Linked DNA regions of Homo sapiens: all the other regions are linked to region 2. The links are contacts of gene promoters, found by promoter capture Hi-C in blood cells and fetal thymus (Javierre and others, 2016). All regions are on one chromosome and are shown on one strand. Each heading gives the region's core, a stretch centred on a gene start or on the middle of the fragment in contact. The rest is flanking DNA. Distances are from core to core; before and after follow the strand shown.

What was found. The method cuts DNA at HindIII sites, captures the fragments that hold promoters and counts their contacts. A CHiCAGO score of 5 or more calls a contact.
Region 1: a contact is called between a fragment that was not itself captured here and the fragment with the promoter of TRIM68 in region 2, in 1 of 17 cell types (total CD8 T cells). The highest score is 7.1, in total CD8 T cells.
Region 3: a contact is called between a fragment that was not itself captured here and the fragment with the promoter of TRIM68 in region 2, in 1 of 17 cell types (activated CD4 T cells). The highest score is 5.5, in activated CD4 T cells.
Region 4: a contact is called between a fragment that was not itself captured here and the fragment with the promoter of TRIM68 in region 2, in 2 of 17 cell types (naive CD8 T cells and total B cells). The highest score is 6.1, in naive CD8 T cells.
Region 5: a contact is called between a fragment that was not itself captured here and the fragment with the promoter of TRIM68 in region 2, in 1 of 17 cell types (non-activated CD4 T cells). The highest score is 6.3, in non-activated CD4 T cells.
Region 6: a contact is called between a fragment that was not itself captured here and the fragment with the promoter of TRIM68 in region 2, in 1 of 17 cell types (total CD4 T cells). The highest score is 6.4, in total CD4 T cells.

The regions. Positions count from the first base shown.
Region 1 is chr11:5,820,585-5,823,602 of GRCh38, reverse strand. OR52N2 (olfactory receptor family 52 subfamily N member 2) reads right to left here. Exons shown (of 2, transcript NM_001005174.3): 2 at 2,120-3,018. The coding sequence ends at 2,302. Among named protein-coding and RNA genes, the nearest start is that of OR52N2, 13 kb to the right of the region's middle. The HindIII fragment of the contact is 649 bases long and covers 967-1,615 here.
Region 2 is chr11:4,606,665-4,609,772 of GRCh38, reverse strand. It overlaps TRIM68 (tripartite motif containing 68), which reads left to right and starts at 1,542. Exons shown (of 7, transcript NM_018073.8): 1 at 1,542-1,746. RefSeq lists silencers at 1,378-1,587, 1,898-1,977. The HindIII fragment of the contact is 6,370 bases long and covers 122-3,108 here.
Region 3 is chr11:6,441,762-6,444,640 of GRCh38, reverse strand. No RefSeq gene overlaps it. Among named protein-coding and RNA genes, the nearest start is that of HPX, 2.2 kb to the right of the region's middle. RefSeq lists an enhancer at 1,217-1,286. The HindIII fragment of the contact is 602 bases long and covers 1,076-1,677 here.
Region 4 is chr11:6,237,020-6,240,302 of GRCh38, reverse strand. It overlaps CNGA4 (cyclic nucleotide gated channel subunit alpha 4), which reads right to left and starts at 1,214. Exons shown (of 6, transcript NM_001037329.4): 1 at 1,035-1,214; 2 at 818-919; 3 at 513-619; 4 at 1-237. The coding sequence starts at 1,096. The HindIII fragment of the contact is 2,141 bases long and covers 284-2,424 here.
Region 5 is chr11:6,482,231-6,485,313 of GRCh38, reverse strand. It overlaps TIMM10B (translocase of inner mitochondrial membrane 10B), which reads right to left. Exons shown (of 3, transcript NM_012192.4): 3 at 633-3,083. Among named protein-coding and RNA genes, the nearest start is that of TIMM10B, 2.3 kb to the right of the region's middle. The HindIII fragment of the contact is 2,649 bases long and covers 257-2,905 here.
Region 6 is chr11:5,696,826-5,699,658 of GRCh38, reverse strand. It overlaps TRIM22 (tripartite motif containing 22), which reads right to left. Exons shown (of 8, transcript NM_006074.5): 3 at 2,316-2,411; 4 at 1,114-1,344. Among named protein-coding and RNA genes, the nearest start is that of TRIM22, 8.5 kb to the right of the region's middle. The HindIII fragment of the contact is 2,755 bases long and covers 2-2,756 here.

The DNA.
Region 1 (3,018 bases), core at 42-2,541, 1.2 Mb before region 2:
CTACCTTTCTAGTCACATTTTTTACTCCTCACCCTTTCTCTTTTACCTCTGAATATACAAAAACCTTTGTGAACCTAAACTTGCTATTCTTTGTTCAGCCTTAATATTAGAGCTAGGTTGTTTATTTTTTTCCAAATAATTTCCATCTGCTTTTCCTTGTAGGACACTTATACATATAATTCGAGATTGACCCTATATACTATTTTCCCTGTAAAATCTTTACTCACTACCTCCAATAGATATTGATGATCATGCTCTCAGGATTCATGAGTTTTGTGAACATCTGTGATGTACAATTACCTTGTTATCATTTTATAATGATTCCATTGCATTTTATATCCTCTACTAGACAAGGAATTAGCTAGTGTTTTTGTTTTCATTTACATTTCTCAGCGTGGAGTAGGCACATGGAGTCAGGCACATGATTGTACCCAGAAAAACTTGTTGGCTGACATTGATAGTATGTTTGTGAGAACTCAGTGAAAACTTGCCCATGGCTGGGCATAGTGGCTCACACCTGTAATCCCAGCACCTTGGGGTGCCAAGGCAGGCGAATCTCCTGAGCTCAGGAGTTCAAGACCAGCCTGAGCAACATAGTGAAACCCTGTTTCTACCAAAAATACAAAAAAATTAGCTGGGCATGGTGGGGCATGCCTGTGTCACAACTACTCAGGAGGCTGAGGTGGGAGGATCACTTGAGTCCAGAAGGCAGAGGTTGCAGTGAGCCGAGATGATGCCACTGCAGCCTAACCTGAGTGACAGAGTGAGACCCCATCTCAAAAAAAAAAAAGAAAAGAAAGCTTGTCCACACAAAACTGATACTGCACTGTGCACTGCCTGTACAACTGGAAAGATTTATCCTCAAACTATGATTTTCATAATGAATCAGAGTTGAAACTAATAGCTCATAAAAATAACTAAAATTTATTGAATGGTTAGTATACATCAGAGATTGTGCTACAAGCTTTTTTTGCATCAGAGCATTTAATTAGAAGAAACATCTCTGTGATACATTTTCTTTTTCACATTTGGAAGAAAATATGGAAGTCAAAATTTAGAGAGATTATGTAGCCTGTCCAACTCTAGTGGCTAGAAATTAAAAGACAGAGGACTTAACACTTGAGATGAATTGAATCTGAAACTGATGTTATATTTCCCCCAATTCTTTCCTACAAACTTTTTATTTCCTTCACACTGCATTCATTTTTTCTCTCTCCCCTTTCTTTTATATGTATTTCTTCTCACACATCCCTGGCTACAGTCCAGATTCTGAGTATCTTGAAACCAGGAACCGTATCATCTGCCTCCCTCTCAATAAATCTAAGATATGACTAATAATATTGCTTAAATTAGTGTTTCAAAAAATGAATTGATGAGTGAATGAATAAATAAATTATAATATATACTAATAGCTTAATGGTTTGCCTGCTTGGTCAATAACATGACAATTATATTTTCAGATCCATTTTATAATTTATTTATTTATTTTATTTTTACTTTAGATTCAGAGTGTACATGTGTAGGTTTGTTACAAGGTTATATTACATGATGCTGAAGTTTGGGCTTCTGTAGATTTTTTCACCCAGATAGTGAATGTAGTATCCAACAGAAAGCTTTTCAGTGTTTATTCTTCCCGCTCCTTTCGAAGAACCTGGAGTCTATTGTTCCCATTTAGATCCATTTTAAATGGAGACCCTAAACTGATGACTTGGGAAAAACAGAACCCTTGGACATTCTTCTGTGAATTATAGGGTATTTTAACACATATTTTGCTGACAATTAAAATGGGGAGATTTCATAGAACATATAAATCTAGCTTGTCTTTAAAAAATACTGAAAAATAGTGAACACTGGACCCACGTTTCTCTATGTCTCTACAGCCTCCCCACTTACACGCAACGCAGGGATTGTCAGCAGGTCTGCTGTCCTTATTTTACTACCTTTCTGGTCTCACAAACATGTGAGTCTATAAACGCTTAGGAAAAGCATCAACTCTTTAAGTAATGGGTATATTACTTCTTTATTTTGCATTCTCTGCTTTGGCAGATCCTTGCCCCCACTCCCAACACACACAAATTCAAGAACTTGCAGAGACTTCAGAAAATTGACATATTATGGTGACTTACAAATTTATGTCTTTATTTTGATTTTTTATTTCTATTTTTATTTTAGGTACACGTGCAAGTTTGTTACATGGGTAAATTACATGTCATGATTTTAATACCATTTTATTCACATCTTTTATGAAATTTTGTCTCCATTATTTTCTCACCACCTGAAACAATATGTCTATTCTATGTTTCATTTGTCATAGGTAAAACTAACCTTGTCTCCAAGTAAAAATTTAATTACACCTTCCTGAATCTGCTTGGTCTTGACTCCATAAACAATTGGGTTCATGGTAGGAGGCAGTAGCAGATAAAGGTTGGCCACGATGATGTGTATGTGGTTTGGGATATTGTGTCCTACAAAACGATGAGTGAAAAAAGTGAAAAAAGCAGCAACATAGGTGATCACAATGGAACACATGTGAGATGTGCAGGTGCTGAAGGCTTTGTGACGAGCATCTGCTGATGACAGGCTCATAACAGCCTGCAAAATCATAGTGTAAGATACAGAGATACAGCAGATATCAAACACACCAATCAGGAGAGCAACCATCAGACCATAAATAGCATTGACCTTGAAATTGCCACAGGATACCTTGGCCACAGACATATGGTCACAGTAGGTGTGGGGGATGAAGTTCCCCCGGCAATAGGGCAGGCGCTTGGTGAGGAGAGTGAATGGGATGATGAGCATCACATTCCTCAAGAAGGTGGCAAGACCAGCCTTGGCGATGACAGGGTTGGTAAGGATGGTGGCATAGCGTAAGGGGTAGCAGATGGCCACATAGCGGTCCAGGGCCATGAGCATGAGCACCCCAGACTCCATCCCTGTCAGCATATGGACAAAAAACATCTGGGCCAGGCAGGCGTTAAAGTCAATCTCCTTGAGGTTGAACCAGAATATGCACAG
Region 2 (3,108 bases), core at 293-2,792:
GGGTCTGCAGCTACAGCTGTGGAATTTGTCCACGACAGAGCCTCACCTGGACACACCTGTCTCACAGCAAACAAATAAAGAAACAAACAAAACATTCTGAAGACATCTGTAAAGGAAAGCTTCTATGCCTTGGAAGTAAACTGGTCTGTCTTCAAAAGCCCTCTCTCCAGCCTTCCCCACATGAACGCAAGCCCCCACCCCCAGCTACCCTGATTGCCAGGGTTCTTGACAGTCCGTCATAGTTACAAATTGCACCTTACACATGAAAATGATCTCCCCATTAACTGTTTTAACTTCACAGAGATTCCAGAGCAGTACAACCAACTTGACCTTCAGCTCCTTAAAGGCAGAGACTATATGTCCCATAGTTGTAATCCCAGCACCCAGTAAAATATTGTCAAGAAAATTGATGTTAAATAAATGTTTAAAATGGCTTATTTCAATTAATCCATTCATTATTCTATTAGAGCAGCCATTTCTCCAAAACTGGGTGAGACAGAGGGTACAGCTCAGACCTAAGATACTTTTGTTTTTTCTCATAGACCTATTTGTTGCAGGAAATTTCTGGGCCTCACCCTTCAGAATTTTAACCATGGCCGGGGCTCAGACACTGGCATGAGCATTCTGGAGTATCTGTCCTAACAATTAAGATATTATATAATTTGGAACCGAGCTTCAATTGGAAGATTTCCTGGTTATTTTCTATGCGGATAGGAGGTGCCTTCACTTGCTTATTAAAACCTAAGTGTCAAGAGAAGGACAAGGCCCTGGGAGTACAAAGAAAAACCCATATCACTGTCTTAAGTAACAGTTTTTGTGTGTGCGTGCATGTGTCTATGTGTTTGGGTGAGGAAGGGATACCAGTTGTTTAATTTTTTTTTCCTTTTTTAATGACAATTTTTGACCAGGGTTTCCATTTCTCCATCAACTCCCGGTCTCTGTTGTCTGTTTTTCACTCTAAAAGTGGATTGTGGCAATAGTGATGACAAGCTGGTTGCTGAAGTAAAAACGAAAAAAGAGAGGGTTTTGTTTTGTTTTGTTTTGTTTTGTTTAAGAACCCAGTATTTAAAGCCTGGAACCATGAGAGGTCGCGAATCTTGCCAGGAACAGCAGAGTCCACACCATATGTGCGCCCAACCCTTTGCTAAGATGGGTCACAGAACCAGACTTGGCCAATCTCAGGCTTCTGAGTTTAACAAGTCAAACTGGCAAATGAATAGCCACCTGAGCCTCTCTTAATGCAGTGCCTGAGCGGCATCATTTGGGAGCCTCAATCCTTTGACCTATCCTAGAACTAACTCCTAGAACCCTCTACAGTTTAAGGGAATCTGAGTCGGTGAAGGGACCAGAAAAACCCAGGAAGTAGAGAAAAAACATTGACATGCCTAGAAGCGCCGAAACCCCCGTCTCATCACCAATTGGCTAGGGGTACCCTGGTCCCTGCCTGTGATTGGCTGCCCCCACAAACACACCGCCCCCTGGGCGAAGCCAACCTGGGCCCAGCCGGCCGCTCATTGGCTGCCGTCCCGCGAGCGGGGCCTAGAGCCGGGTGTAGTATTCTGGGAGCTGCGGGCTACTGGGCCTGCGCTGCCGGGCTTTGGGTTCTGGGCCTCTGCCGCTCTCTGGCCCTAAGTGCTGAGCTGCCGGGAACGGCAGCTTCTGACGCTGGGCCATTGGACGCTGCGGAACCAGGCTTCTTCACTTTGAGTTTCCGCCGCGAAGCGCCAGTCCGGGCCGAGGAGGGAGGTGGGTAGATAACTCTGCCTTTTCTGAAGTCAGATCCCGCACGCTCACTTTACCCCCACCCGCCCGCTGTCCTGGGGACCTGCCCAACGCCCTGTGGCCAGGCCAGGAGCTGCTCCCTGACTCCGGAGGTTACCGCCCGCCCCTCGACTCCCTTCCCGCTGGGGTCCTAACTGGAAGTCTTCCAGGCCCCGCCCCCTTCTCAAATGCCCTTCTCAGACTCTCGCTGTACCCTACGGAAGGCACAGTCAAAGCAACCGAACGTTTAATTATTTGAATTTTCTCAAAGTAATTCATGTATAATAAAAAGTCAAACATTAAAGCAGGTCTTATTTTGAAGAGCAGTAACTACCCATCCCCAGATCTTTGCAGAGGCTGCCACTTTTAGTTTGTCCCCATTTAGATGTTTTTAGCACCCTAAATCAAAATAATATGCGTTCCACTGTATTTCTGGATTTATCATTTTGATATTTCTTTGCCTTACTTTCTTACTGCCACAATCTTGTCAATTTTCCATCGCTATTTTAGGTCTTCCATTTGTAGCTTTAAATAATGGGTATCAACTTCCATTTATTGTTTTATTGACTTTAGATGGTGTCTCTTAATGTCTCTACTGACTTAGCTAAGGATATTAACACATCCTCCACTTTCAATCTACTATCGGTTGGAACTCAACATTTACATTTAGTTTTCACGTATTCAACAAGTATTTGAGGCACTGTTCTTGGCACTGGGGAAATAGAAATGGACAAAACAGACAATGACCCTATCCACATGAAAAAGTTCTAGTATGGGAAGTAAGACAATAGACGAATACATGGCAAATGACGTCAAAGGCAGGATCATGTAGAAGTCATTTTCAGCTGGGAGAATAGCAGGCACCCAAGTCAGGTAGATTGAATGGACGAGGGGTTTGCGGGAGTGTGTGGAAGTTTATTCCTTTGCCTAGCTGGGCACAGGTGCTGTTTCAAGGAGAGATCTTGTTAACCGGGAGCCAGGATAGATTATTTAGTAAGTTAGTGATTTACCAAAATGAGGTTTTAGGATACTGGATCCCACAGTTTGGTAGTGATAGTGGGAGGAAGAAAAGCAGGAGGCAGGGAGTCTAGTGAGAAGGCATGCCCTGCCAATGGCATATCAGAGTCCTGCAAGATTTACTGCTCTGCTTCCTGCTTCCTGCTACTGGACTGCGCTAAACCACAGTGATTTTTCTCTCCTCTTGAATTTGTATTATACCTTAAAGCTAAAGAGGTTAAGAAATTTGCCCAAGATAGATGGCAGAGCCCCAAGCCAAACATCTGTAAAATGAGAACAATAATGGCCTCTGCCTAGGGTTGTGAAATAAACCAACTTAATTCATGTAAA
Region 3 (2,879 bases), core at 127-2,626, 1.8 Mb before region 2:
TATAATGAACAAAAATGTATTTCTCACAGTTCTGGAGGCTGGGAAGTCCAAGATTAAGGTGCCCAGCAGGTTTGGTGTGTGGTGAGGTCCTGGTCTCTGCTTCTATGATGGCATTTTGAACGCTGCATCCTCTAGAGGAGACAAATGCTGTTCATCACGTGGCAGAAAAGCAGAGGAGAGAGAATCCACTTCTGAAAGCCCTTTTTATAGCAGCATTAATCCATTCATCGGGCAGAGCTCTCATGACCTAAACACCTCTCATGAGGCCGCACCTCCAAACACTGGCACATTGGGAATTAAGCTTCCAACACATCAATTCGGAGGGGACAGAAACATTCAAACCATAGCAAGTGCTATATACATGCTATATATATATATATATAGCACTAAGGCCCATTATAGACTGAGCAAGAGGAGGGGTCAGCTGGGATCAGCAAGCTCTTTGGCTGCCTGGAGCTTTATCCCTAAGCCTCCTACCCCTGAGGAAAGGAGACATTCAGTTCCTGCTCCCTGGAGTATACAGCCACAGACTTCAGGCCCAGCACACCTAGCACTCAGTGGGCCCAGGAGAAATGGCTAAGGTCAGAGAACTCATATCAACAGCAGAGCAGGCTGGACATAGACATAGCCATTCCAAGGGACAGTGGGTCAGTGTCCAGCTTACATCTGGCTCTTGGCAATGCAGGAGGAAGCTCTGTCATTTGCAGACATTTGCAGGTTCGTGTTCAGACCCCTTCTGGGAGAAGTAAAAAAGCTGCTGGTTAGGAGGATAGAGAAGACTACCCAGGAAAAGAGATGGTTGAATTTCTCTGGGCTCGAGTTCCCAGAGAAGCAAGAGATTGAGGTCCCCAAATCCACTCTGGGCAGCAAGGTTTGCAGAAGAAGGGAAAGAAGCATAGAAGGGTGTGTACCACTAAGGATGCACAGCCAGGGCTGAGAGGAGTGTGGGACAAAGGCTGTGGAGAGCTAGTTTCAGAGAGGAAAAACTCCTGGGCTCTGGCCTCTAGTTGAAGGGCGGGAGTGCACTGATTCCTGCGGCCTGCAGGGGGTGCTCAGGCCCAAGTACCGACAAGCTTCTTTCCTCAGCCCCAGTAGGAAGCCTGGGAAGGACCCAGGACCCACAGAAGGGGCCTCCTGTAGTGAGGGGAAGAGAAGCAAGGCTGCTGAGTCTTGACTACCCTGAGAAGTCTTGGCTTGTACCCTGTGACCAACACCAGGGTGGCCAACATATCCACAGCCCTGGGTTCCCAAATGTGTACAATGTTCTACTTTCAACTCCTGCCCAAAACTTGAACTTCAACCTGGACTGCCTGCAGTGCAGATGACTCTGCTGGCCTAGTCCCTGGGTGGAGCAGGAGGATCCAGTAATGGTTTCTAAGCCATTCTCGGGTACACAGGTGAATTAGGAAGCAACAGGGAAAAGGGACCATAAAGTAGTATTCTGGGATAGATGGATCCGGGGTGCTGTGAGGGGGACCACACCAGGTGTGTGGGGAAGGGGTCAAGCTGAAAAATGATCATCCAGTATATGTGCTGTATGCCCTCAGACAGCCCTGTTAGGCCAGAAGGAGACTGCACCCTTGGACTGGCAAGTCAGTGCAAGGCCCTGCTAATAGGACTATTGAAGACTCTCACTATGGGTTTTCTGTGGGGTGTTTGTTTCTTGGGGTGAAAGCTTCCCTCTCCCCAGGCAGGCCCAGCAAAATCTGTAGGATTCAGACAGGGTTCTGACAGCTGAAGACAAGTTGTTGAGGAAATTCCTGATGGAGGATCATGGGGTGCTCAGGAGGGAGAATATAAGGTTTCAGAGGCTGAGAGGGAAAGAAAAGGTGAGGGGGAGTCTTAGAATAGTGGCTCCCATTGCCCAACACCCAGAAAGAAGACATGCCCTGCAATGGGGAGAAGGTGAGTATGAGACATTGGCTGTAGCAGCGATGGCATTGCCCAGGCTGCCAAGGACTCAGAGAGTCCAGCCTTGCCCACTGACCTATGAGGAGGGAATGATGTTCACAGCACATTTTCATTCGTAAGTCAGGAGAGGACATTGAGCCTGATGGCAGAGGCCTGGTGACATGTTGTTCCAGAGGTTCCGGAATGTGTGTTTTCCTGTTGGAAGGAAACTTCGCAGAGTAGAAAAGGGATCTGAGACTTTTGGTAAGATTATATATGGGACTGTCAGGGGTCTGGAGCCATCTGTGAGGGATCAGGGCCCTTTCAGCCTTGGCTAGGGAGCAGGGGTCCTGGAACTTCATCCTGGCCCATAGCTGAGTCTGCCCATAATTCTTTTCTGACTCACTAGGCAAATCTCACACAGAAATGGGGCAGCTTTGGGAGTGGGCCCAGGAAGTACTGAGGATAGCAGGTGAGATCCCAGGAAGAGATGGATGTGGGGCCGAGACACTGGAGAGAGAAACAGGACTGTCAGATAAAGGGCGTCTGTGACTCCTAGATCTCATTATGCCTACTACCATAACCTACCCCCAATTCCTAATATTCTCCTACCCTAGAGGGGGGGAAATTGTCAGAAATTTGGCTGCAACACTAGCAACACTACTCAGTACTTGAAATGCATTTTTGCATTTTTTTCATTCAACAAATATTTCTGGAACAACTCTTATATGCCAGGCACTATTTTAGGAGTCAGGGATATATAATGGTAAACAAGACAGGCAAAACAAAGCAAAGCAACAACAACCATCACCAGATAAGTAGACAGATGAAAGAATTTCAAGTTTTAGTAAGTAAAATAAAACAAGCAAGGGTCTGAAATGGCTAGATAAGGTGGTCAAGAAAGGCTTCATTGAGAAGGTAGCATTTAAGCAGGAGTCAGCTAGAAATATTGTGAAATTCCAGTTACAGTTCTATTTGTTCTGGGTTGG
Region 4 (3,283 bases), core at 105-2,604, 1.6 Mb before region 2:
CAATGCGAAAGGCATTTGGGTAAGCTGTGCGGGTCTCTGTGCGGTCGAAGGCCTCGAAGAGGCGGGGCGCGCGGAGAAAGCGGTTCAGCCTCAGGGTGGGTGTGTGCGGGCCCAGCCGCACGTAGACCACATCTGTGGGCATCAGGGAAGCCAGGTCCAAGAAGAAACTCCAGGTGCGAACGTAGCGACTCGAGATCCTACCCTTGTCCACCACCAGGATGCCCTGTTCCAAGAATCCTGGGGAGAGGGAGCCGGTAGGAAGCGGACCTGCTGTAGTCAAGCTTGGGCTGAGCATGAGCTGCCCAGGGCAGGCCAGGGAGACTGTCTGAAGGACAGAGTGGAGCCAGGCATAACTCTGCTCCCGGCTTTCCGGGGTGAGCACTGGGATGCTGTCAGGCATAGAGGCACGCGAAGGTGCTACCACGGTGGGGGTGCCTTTCTTGTTACTTCTTAAGTGGCTATCTTTAGGAAGGGAATGTGGGACAAAGGGTCATTCCTAGAAGCCCACTGACCTGTGTGGAAGCGCACCACCATGTCTAGTAGGTATAGCAGGTCACTCGTGTAGTCCAGCACCAACCAGGCCACCAGATAACCGTGCTGCAAGTCGGGGAAGCAGGCTCTGCAGGGCAGGGTTAAGCATGATTGAATTAAGGGCACCCTCTGTGTGCGAGGCGTCTCCCCAGGGCCCTTAACCCTCTGCCTCAGGCCCTCCCATGGGAATTGCTCCTCCTGCCCCACCAAGGGTCTGCCCTTCTCCTTGACCTCTCTTTAGTCCTCTTTTTGGCTTCCAGCCCCTCCCTTAGCACCGCTGCCATACCTGCACACGAGGATGATGAGGTTATACATGACTGGGAAGACCATTGTGTTCAGCCACCAGTAGTAGTAATCCCCAGATGGGTCCAGGACAGGCAGCAACTTCCTGTAAGAAAGAAAGTCTTGCTTCATTTATTCACCAGGCATTCAAAGCTGTAGTTGTGACTGGGGCACCAAGAGGAATGAGGAGAGATCCCACACAAGGGACCAGGACTTCTCACCTGGCCTTGGATGGGGCTGGGGGACTGGACTCTGTTGTCTTCACTTTGGTGTCCTGGCTCATGGTTCTGTGGTCTGGTGCTGGGGTGTGAGATGTCCACACCCTCTCTGCCTGTAGGGGACTTCTGGAGTTGGGCACTAGTGCCTGACTGCCTGAAGGAGGCTGCTGTTGGGCTTCTGCTGTGACTTCTTTGTCTTTGGGGCTCTTAGCAACACAACCAGAGCTAGCGCTACTGAAGGGGTGGAGACAGTCTAGCTCTAGCACTCTGCCCTGTCTCCCAGGGCCTGGGCTTACACCTGCCCAGCTAAACACCTCTAATGAGATCCCTGGAGAAGGTGGGGGTGCATGCCTCAGAGGGAAGCCTGAGTCTTGTCTCTGTTTTCCTCCTCCCCTCTTTCCACAGCAACTGAGCTACATAGGTGTCCTCTGGGTCAGAAGACCTCAGTTTTAGTGTAGGATCAAACACTCTGTTTTATCTTTGCAAATTCTATTTGGGCCTCACTATTTATTTATTTAACAACTATTACTGAATGGCTTATCTATGTCAGGTGCTAAACTATTCTCCAGGGACAAAGAGATGCCTCTCACATGAGAAGTGAGCTCTATTTTTGTAACCTACTTCCTACCCTTATCTACCTCCACATACGCCTTCCCCCATCACACCATTCTCATAGGTAGTGTGATAGGGGCCATCCTATGGTGCTTTTGTCCTCATATCCTTCTTGTGACTTCTAGTGCCTGATCCTACCAACCATTCCATGTGTTTTATGGTCCCCAATCTTTCAACTTTTCTCTTTTTGTGAACCTGCTTCAATATCTCCTATATCAAAACAAACAAAAACCCTACAATTTCTCCCTCAACCTGATGTTCCTTTCACTGCTATCATCTTTCTCAGTCAACAAATCAAAATCAGAACACCCATAGGCAGGTGTTCTGTGTGCCAGGCCAATATTGTGCTAAATACTAGGAATTGGAGATGAATAAGACACGCTCCCCCTTCTCCAGAAGCTCACAGTCTGCTAGGTGAAATAGTCAGGCCAGCAGGTAATTACACATGAGGTAACTAAACAGCAGCAGTCATTGCCAGGCTGCTGATGAGTACTCTGTTAGCTGGATACACGGAAGGCTATTATAGTACACATGAAGTGGCCCTACAGAGCCTGGGTTCTGCAGGATGAATAGGAGTTGGGTACAGAGATGGGAGGGTGAAGAGCACTAGAGGCAGAATGCACAGAGTGGGCAAAGGCATAGAGATATCAAAAAGCGTGGGTGACTGGGCAAATATCAATTGGCTTATTTTAGAGGGCCTAGCGGGTAGTGGTGAGAGATGAGGTTGAATGATAGACAGAGGCCAGCTCAGGAGGAGTTCTGTCAGCCATGTTATAAAGCTTGGATTTTACCCAACGGCAATAGAGAACCTGTGAAGAGTTTTTCACAGTTCAGTGATAAAATCAGGTTTGTGTTTTTGGAGTGTGTTTTAGAAGAAAAACCTGTGGTCCCTAATTAAATTTTGAAAAACTCTCTTTTCCCATGGCTTCTTAATTTCTTTTTGCAAAGTATTACGCTTGTTAAAATAAAAAGACAACATTCAAAGTAATGCAACAAAATGAATAAAATCCTTTGTAATGCCATAATGTCTTGGTTTGCTGTTTCTTTTTAGTGTCTTTCATAAGCTCCTCTGTCTATTCCTTCTATGATGGTGTTTTTTTTTTTTCTTGGATTCTGTTCTAGGCTTTCTACTTTTGCCATCCTCCTAACTCTGTCTGATTGACGTCAGTCACCCACAGGACTTCCTTTCTCATATAGTGGCTCCCGAGAACTCTCCCTGAGTTTCAGTTATCTATATGACTAACTGCTCACTGGATGTTCCTACTTGGGTATCCCGCGGTCACCTTCAACCCATTGGGTCTATAACTAAGCTCATTATCTTCCTCCACTTTTTCTTCTAGAATTCCTATCTATGCCCTTTCAGCAAAAAAACCTATGACAAGCATTTATTACTATTTACTGTATAATGTTGTGGCAGTTAAAAAAAATGGTCACAAATTCTTCGACACCACTCCCTTGTGATAGTTTGTATAGCAGGAGTGATGTTGTGTGACTTCTAAGGCTAGATCATAAAAGGCCATGCAGCTTCCCTCTGGTTCTCTTGGAATGCGTGTTGTCTGGTAGCTCCCTCTCAGAATGTTCCCTCTTGGAACCTACCCATCACATTGTGAGAAGTTCTGTTTGACAGTTTGCCCAATGAG
Region 5 (3,083 bases), core at 332-2,831, 1.9 Mb before region 2:
GGAGACAAAACACCAAATGAATTGTCTATGTAAATGTTAAAATATCAAGGAGTGGACAGGAAGACCAAGGGCTAGCTATTTAAAGTAGCAGGAGAGTAGTAGTAAATGAGAGTGGTAGACAAGTAATCAGAGGGTTGTATGGATGAACAGCCTCAAAAGAATGAGGCTTTGCAAAGGAGTGGGCAGTTCTGAAGCCACAATGGCAGGAACAACAAAGTATCTCCAACGTTTACATTTATGATAACATGATAAAGCTTGTCAACATTTATTCTTTAGTGTTGTGCTTGGAACATCACATTGCTCCGATTATGCCAATGGCTATCACTTTATGGTAAAACCTGAGGAAGACCAGATTATGGAAGGTAAAGTGGTAGGAATAAGGTTTTTCTCCTGAACACTGAACATATTTATAAACAGGAAAGAACCAGGACAAGAGATTGAAATTTTAAGAAAGGGATTAAGAGATGGGTCAGACTGAGGGACATTTGTTTTTTCATGCCTAGAGGCAGGTTAAGTACAGATAGAAGCTCTCAAAGTTCAAAGAGCAAAGGCTTTAGAATCAGACAGATCTATGCTCCTAGCTCTTCTTTAGCAATTACTATTGTGTGACATGGAAGGACGGGAAGCACAGATAATTCACAATGGAAGTTTATTGCAAGGATACACACAAATGTTGATGTGGAAGGGTCCTCCCACCAGCAGCACAGTATCACAGGTCCCATCCTCCTATCTTCTGGAAGTTAAGAAGTTCAAACCTGTTTTACTTGCATTTATATTTCCCAAGGACAGAGTGCCACCCTGTGGGTAAGGTCCTAGTCAGCAACTTTTACCTTCCTAACAAACTTTTCTGTTCAAGAGATAGCAGCTAAAGGGGGCAAAAAACATGATTGGAACCACTTTTCTCAATAAGAAACTTTGTATAGGCCGGCCGTGGTGGCTCACACCTGTAATCCCAGCACTTTTGGAGGCCGAGGCGGGCGGATCACAAGGTCAGGAGTTCAAGACCAGCCTGACCAATACAGTGAAACCCCGTCTCTACTTAAAATACAAAAACAAAATTAGCTGGGCGTGGTGGCGCATGCCTGTAATCCCAGCTACTCGAGAGGCTGAGGCAGGAGAACTGCTTGAACCCGGGTGGCGGAGGTTGCAGTGAGCCTAGATCGCTCCACTGCACTCCAGCCTGGGTGACAGAGCGAGACTCTGTCTCAAAAAAAAAAAAAAGAAGCTGTGTATAAATGTTTGCACGAAATCTGCAGAATGTGCCTTCTGGCACATTCTGGATTCTTGCTTCCTCATCTGTTAAGTGAGGTTAATACCTCTTACTTATAGTTGTTGTAAAGATTAATATAAAGCATGACATCTACCAAAATCAGAACCTACACAAAGTGTGTGCTCAATAAATACTATCTTAAGAGGCAGCCTGCTGTGTAAAATGAACATGGACTTTAAAGTCAGATCTGCACTTTAATACCGGGTCTGCTACTTGAGAATTTCAATTTTCTGCTCTGTAGATAGGATAGAACATCTGCTTTGTAGGTAGTTGTAAGAAGTTTTAAAATTATTACTGTGGAAACCAATGTCTAAGAGCTTCAATTTCTCTAAAAAAGGAAACAGGGTCACCTGATGAGGGTGGGGTATGGGATTAAGGACAGCAGTAGAGGTGTAAAATAACTGCCATGGTAATTAGAGAAGGAAATGGACCAGGAACCCATAAAGGTGTGTGTTGGTGTGACTGCGTGTTGGTGTGAGGACTTGGCTGAGGTTGGAGGCCTTGAATATTTAGTGGCATTCATTACACAACTGTTTTTCTCTAGCAGTTTGAATGAAGGAATGGAAAAGACAGAATAAGTGGAATGATACAAAAAGATGGCCAATGGTGGCAAGAAAATGGGGTGATGGAATGATATGCTATCCAGGCTGCTGAATACAGAAGTAAATTACACAAAGTTGGGGGGCGGGGGAGGCAATAATGAGAAAAGAATGGAGAGGCTGGAATTAGAAATCACAGAATGTACTCAATGGGACCAATGTGGGGCAGATGATAGAAAGCTGGATTTAGGAGTTTCTAGACGAGCAGTGAAACATTAACGTAGCATTAAAGAAGTCCCGAAGATTTAGTTTTATCCCTTTTTATCATAACCATTGCCATCTACTTCTCCCTTCAGTTTCTCTTCCTCGGATTTGGCTGCATTGCAGAATATGGTCCCCAGCTCTCTCCCTTCCTGATTGCCCGTGAAGACAACCACACAGACCTTTGTTCAAAGGTTTTACTGCTCATCCTGAGAAGACTGTACATACTAAGAAAGTAACAACCTGGGGAAATGGCTGAAGTTCCAAAAGACTCCAGACTTCTTACAGGTTTCATCTCTCTTCTGTGGCCACTAACTTCCCAAGGAGGCAGTGCCCAAAAGCCCTGTGGTTTTTTGATCCGTTGTACTTCGATAGCTCCTCCTTTCCCTAGATCCAGCAGAACTCTAGACATGTAAGACATAGTTCACAAAACAACAGTTATGAACCAACAAATACTTGGCTCACGGTTATGAGCCACTGAAGTCAGTCAGACTTAAGGACAACTAGACAGAGCTCCCATTTTCTGTCATCTGGGCAGGAACCAATCTCCTGTTGTATAAAATGACCTTCTGGTACTTTCTGGAATCTTGCTTCCTCATCTGTTAAGTGAGGCTAATACCGCTTACTCATAGTTTTGTTGTGAAGATGAACTAAGAGCATGACATATTACCCGTTTTAAAATTGTACACACAGACCCTGCTTTAACCAGATGCCTGCAAATGCTCAGGTTTTCCTTCTACATATAGAAAACAATTTCTCAGCTGCCAGGGCTGAAGCCAGCAGATATGCACTAAACGACAGAACAACGGATTGTGCCAATAAAGTAGGCAAAGCTTCCTTGCCCAGAATATAAATCAAACTGAGTAAAAACTGGGTATATTGGCTCCAGGAAAAGGAGCAAGGACACCCAGCTTTCAGGCAACCTCGAATTCTCTCTGTTTAGGATTCACCAACCCCAAGGTCCACCGGGTCCTTCAATCTGAGGGTCCATCCAAGGCCTTCCTTCCTGGGGT
Region 6 (2,833 bases), core at 130-2,629, 1.1 Mb before region 2:
TTTTGTATTGTTACTCATATAAAGTGAGTAACAACTTTGGAAAATAGTACGACAACTTAAAACTTATACATAAACAACATACAACACTCTTTTTTTTTTTTTTTTTTTTTTTTTTTTTTTTTTTTTTTGAGACGGAGTCTCGCTCTGTCGCCCAGGCCGGACTGCGGACTGCAGTGGCGCAATCTCGGTTCATTGCAAGCTCCGCTTCCCGGGTTCACGCCATTCTCCTGCCTCAGCCTCCCGAGTAGCTGGGACTACAGGCGCCCGCCACCGCGCCCGGCTAATTTTTTGTATTTTTAGTAGAGACGGGGTTTCACCTTGTTAGCCAGGATGGTCTCGATCTCCTGACCTCATGATCCACCCGCCTCGGCCTCCCAAAGTGCTGGGATTACAGGCGTGAGCCACCGCGCCCGGCCACAACATACAACACTCTTAAAATCTACTCAAGATAAATGAAAACATGTTTGTATGAGGACATGTAAGTGAATGTTTACTGTAGCATTATTCATAATAGTCCCTAACTGGAAAATATTCATATAGCCACCAACTGGTGAATACATAAACATAATATGATATATTCAGATAATGGAATAGTATTAGCAATAAGAGCAAAATGCTGATACATACTGCAATATAAATAAACCTCAAAATATTATGCTAAGTTAAAGATGCCAGATGCAAAAGACTACATGTTTTATAATTCAATTCATATTGAAAGGTCCAGAGAAGCCAATTCTATACAGACAGAAAACAGATAGGCTGCCAGGAGGTGGAGGTAGAAACAGATATTGACTGCAAACAGGCATGAGAAATGTTTTTGATGTGATGGGAAAGTTCTAAAACTGATATGCTCATGGTACAAAGAATCCTCTCCAAGCTCAAATTTTTACACTGCTCTCATAAGTGAATAATAATGGGAATTTCCCTTCCCATTCATACACTTAATGATCTCTGTGACCCCTGAAATGATGGGCATAAAAGGGGCATGCCGGGCCAAAGGAACCATTTCATGTCACCACACAGAAGAAAGCCTAGAGACTGGGAAGGGAAGGAAAATCGGCCTCTGTGTTTTTCCCCTAATCTCTTACGTAGGTGCTCCATCCCAAGTCTTACCTGCAGCATCTCTACTGACGATCCCCTCAACCTCCGCTGGAGATCTGAGATGAGCGTGCTGGCATCCTGCCTCTGCTGGACCAGCTGGTCTGTAGCTGCTGCCAGGTTATCCAGCACATTCACCTCACCTTCCTCCAGCTTTTGCAGCTCTCTCTGCTCCTCATTGTCCAAGATGACTCTCATTTCATTGAACCCTTTCAGAATCTTCTGTCTCTCGATCTGGATATAATTCTTGGGAATGAAAAGAGAAAGAGGCAGTCAGTCTGGCTGGTTGAAGGCCTGCTTTGTATGAGCCTGGGAGACAGGATAAGAACAGTTTTCCTCAGGGAGTTCTCAAAAGGAATAGGAGGCAAAAGCCAATACACAATTTCTGGTGAAGCCATGTTTTTCTACTTTTTAACCTGAGCTCCTCCCAAAGCAATACACTCAAGTCAGTTTTATTGAGGCCTAATCTGAGACAAAATGTGATGCCTGGGTGAGGCTTGGATTGTAGACACCTGTCCTGAACAACTTTGCCTTTCTGTATCTTAAATCCCTCTACCTGGCCTGGCACAGTGGCTCATGCCTGTAATCCCAGCACTTTGGGAGGCTGAGATGGGTGGATCACAAGGTCAGGAGATTGAGACCATCCTGGCTAACATGATGAAACCCCATCTCTACTAAAAATACAAAAAATTAGCTGGGCATGGTGGCACATGCCTGTAGTCCCAGCTACTCGGGAGGCTGAGGCAGGAGAATCGTTTGAACCAGGGAGGCAGAGGTTGCAGTGAGCCAAGATCGCGCCACTACACTCCAGCCTGTATGACAGAGAGAGACTCTGTCTCAAAAAACAAACAAACAAACAAAAAAATCCCCCTACTGAAACCCCCTAAACAGGGAATCCTGGGTCTTTCTCCAGGGTGTTTACTGGAAGGATTGGAGCCTCAAACCTGATGACACAAATGGAACACAGGATTCACAGGAAGCGTTTTCACAGATATTTCCCTCCATGCCTTCACTTCCAAATATAGTGTTGATTTATGATATGTCTACTCTCCAGCCCCTAAACTCCAACAGGGAAGGAGTTAAATTGAGACCTAATCAAATGACTTCTATGCTTGTTAATTCTAGCACAGCAAAGAGGAAGGGGTCTCCTTGTGATAGAGCCCAGGGTCCTGCCCAGATTCCTGTCTAATTATCCCTTAGGAGGTGTCTCCTCCTGCCTTCCAGGCGGTTCTCTCTTGTCTGATGTCATCTTCCAGCTTCTCAGCCTCTTGATCCTCCTTTATCAGCCTCTGCAGGGCTACCTGCAGCTTTTCCTGTAAGAAATAAATTATACCAGAGTAAAGTTATGAGCTTTCTCAGCACCTGAATAGAGGACAGCAAGGAAGAAATTGGATGGCTCTCAGAAGAAACTAGTTTACAGAAACAGTGAGGCTGGTGATTAGAACCTATGGCATGGGGGAAAATCTGAGGAGATGAATGTATTCTTTATTCCTGGATGATGGAAGTCACCATCCTCTTATCAAGAGTAGCCTGATTCTTTTCCTAGAGAAAAAGCAGACCCTGCAGTAAGGAAAGACGTCCTTTCATTGCCACTCTTCCCACATCTAACCAGACGTGTTCCCAAAAATACTGTTCTTCTTGGAGGGGCAATGAAAGCTTATCTTACAAAGCAATTCTCCATTCATTCAACTTTTCCTTGCTAAAAATTTGTACTCTTTTTTAAATAAAACAATGT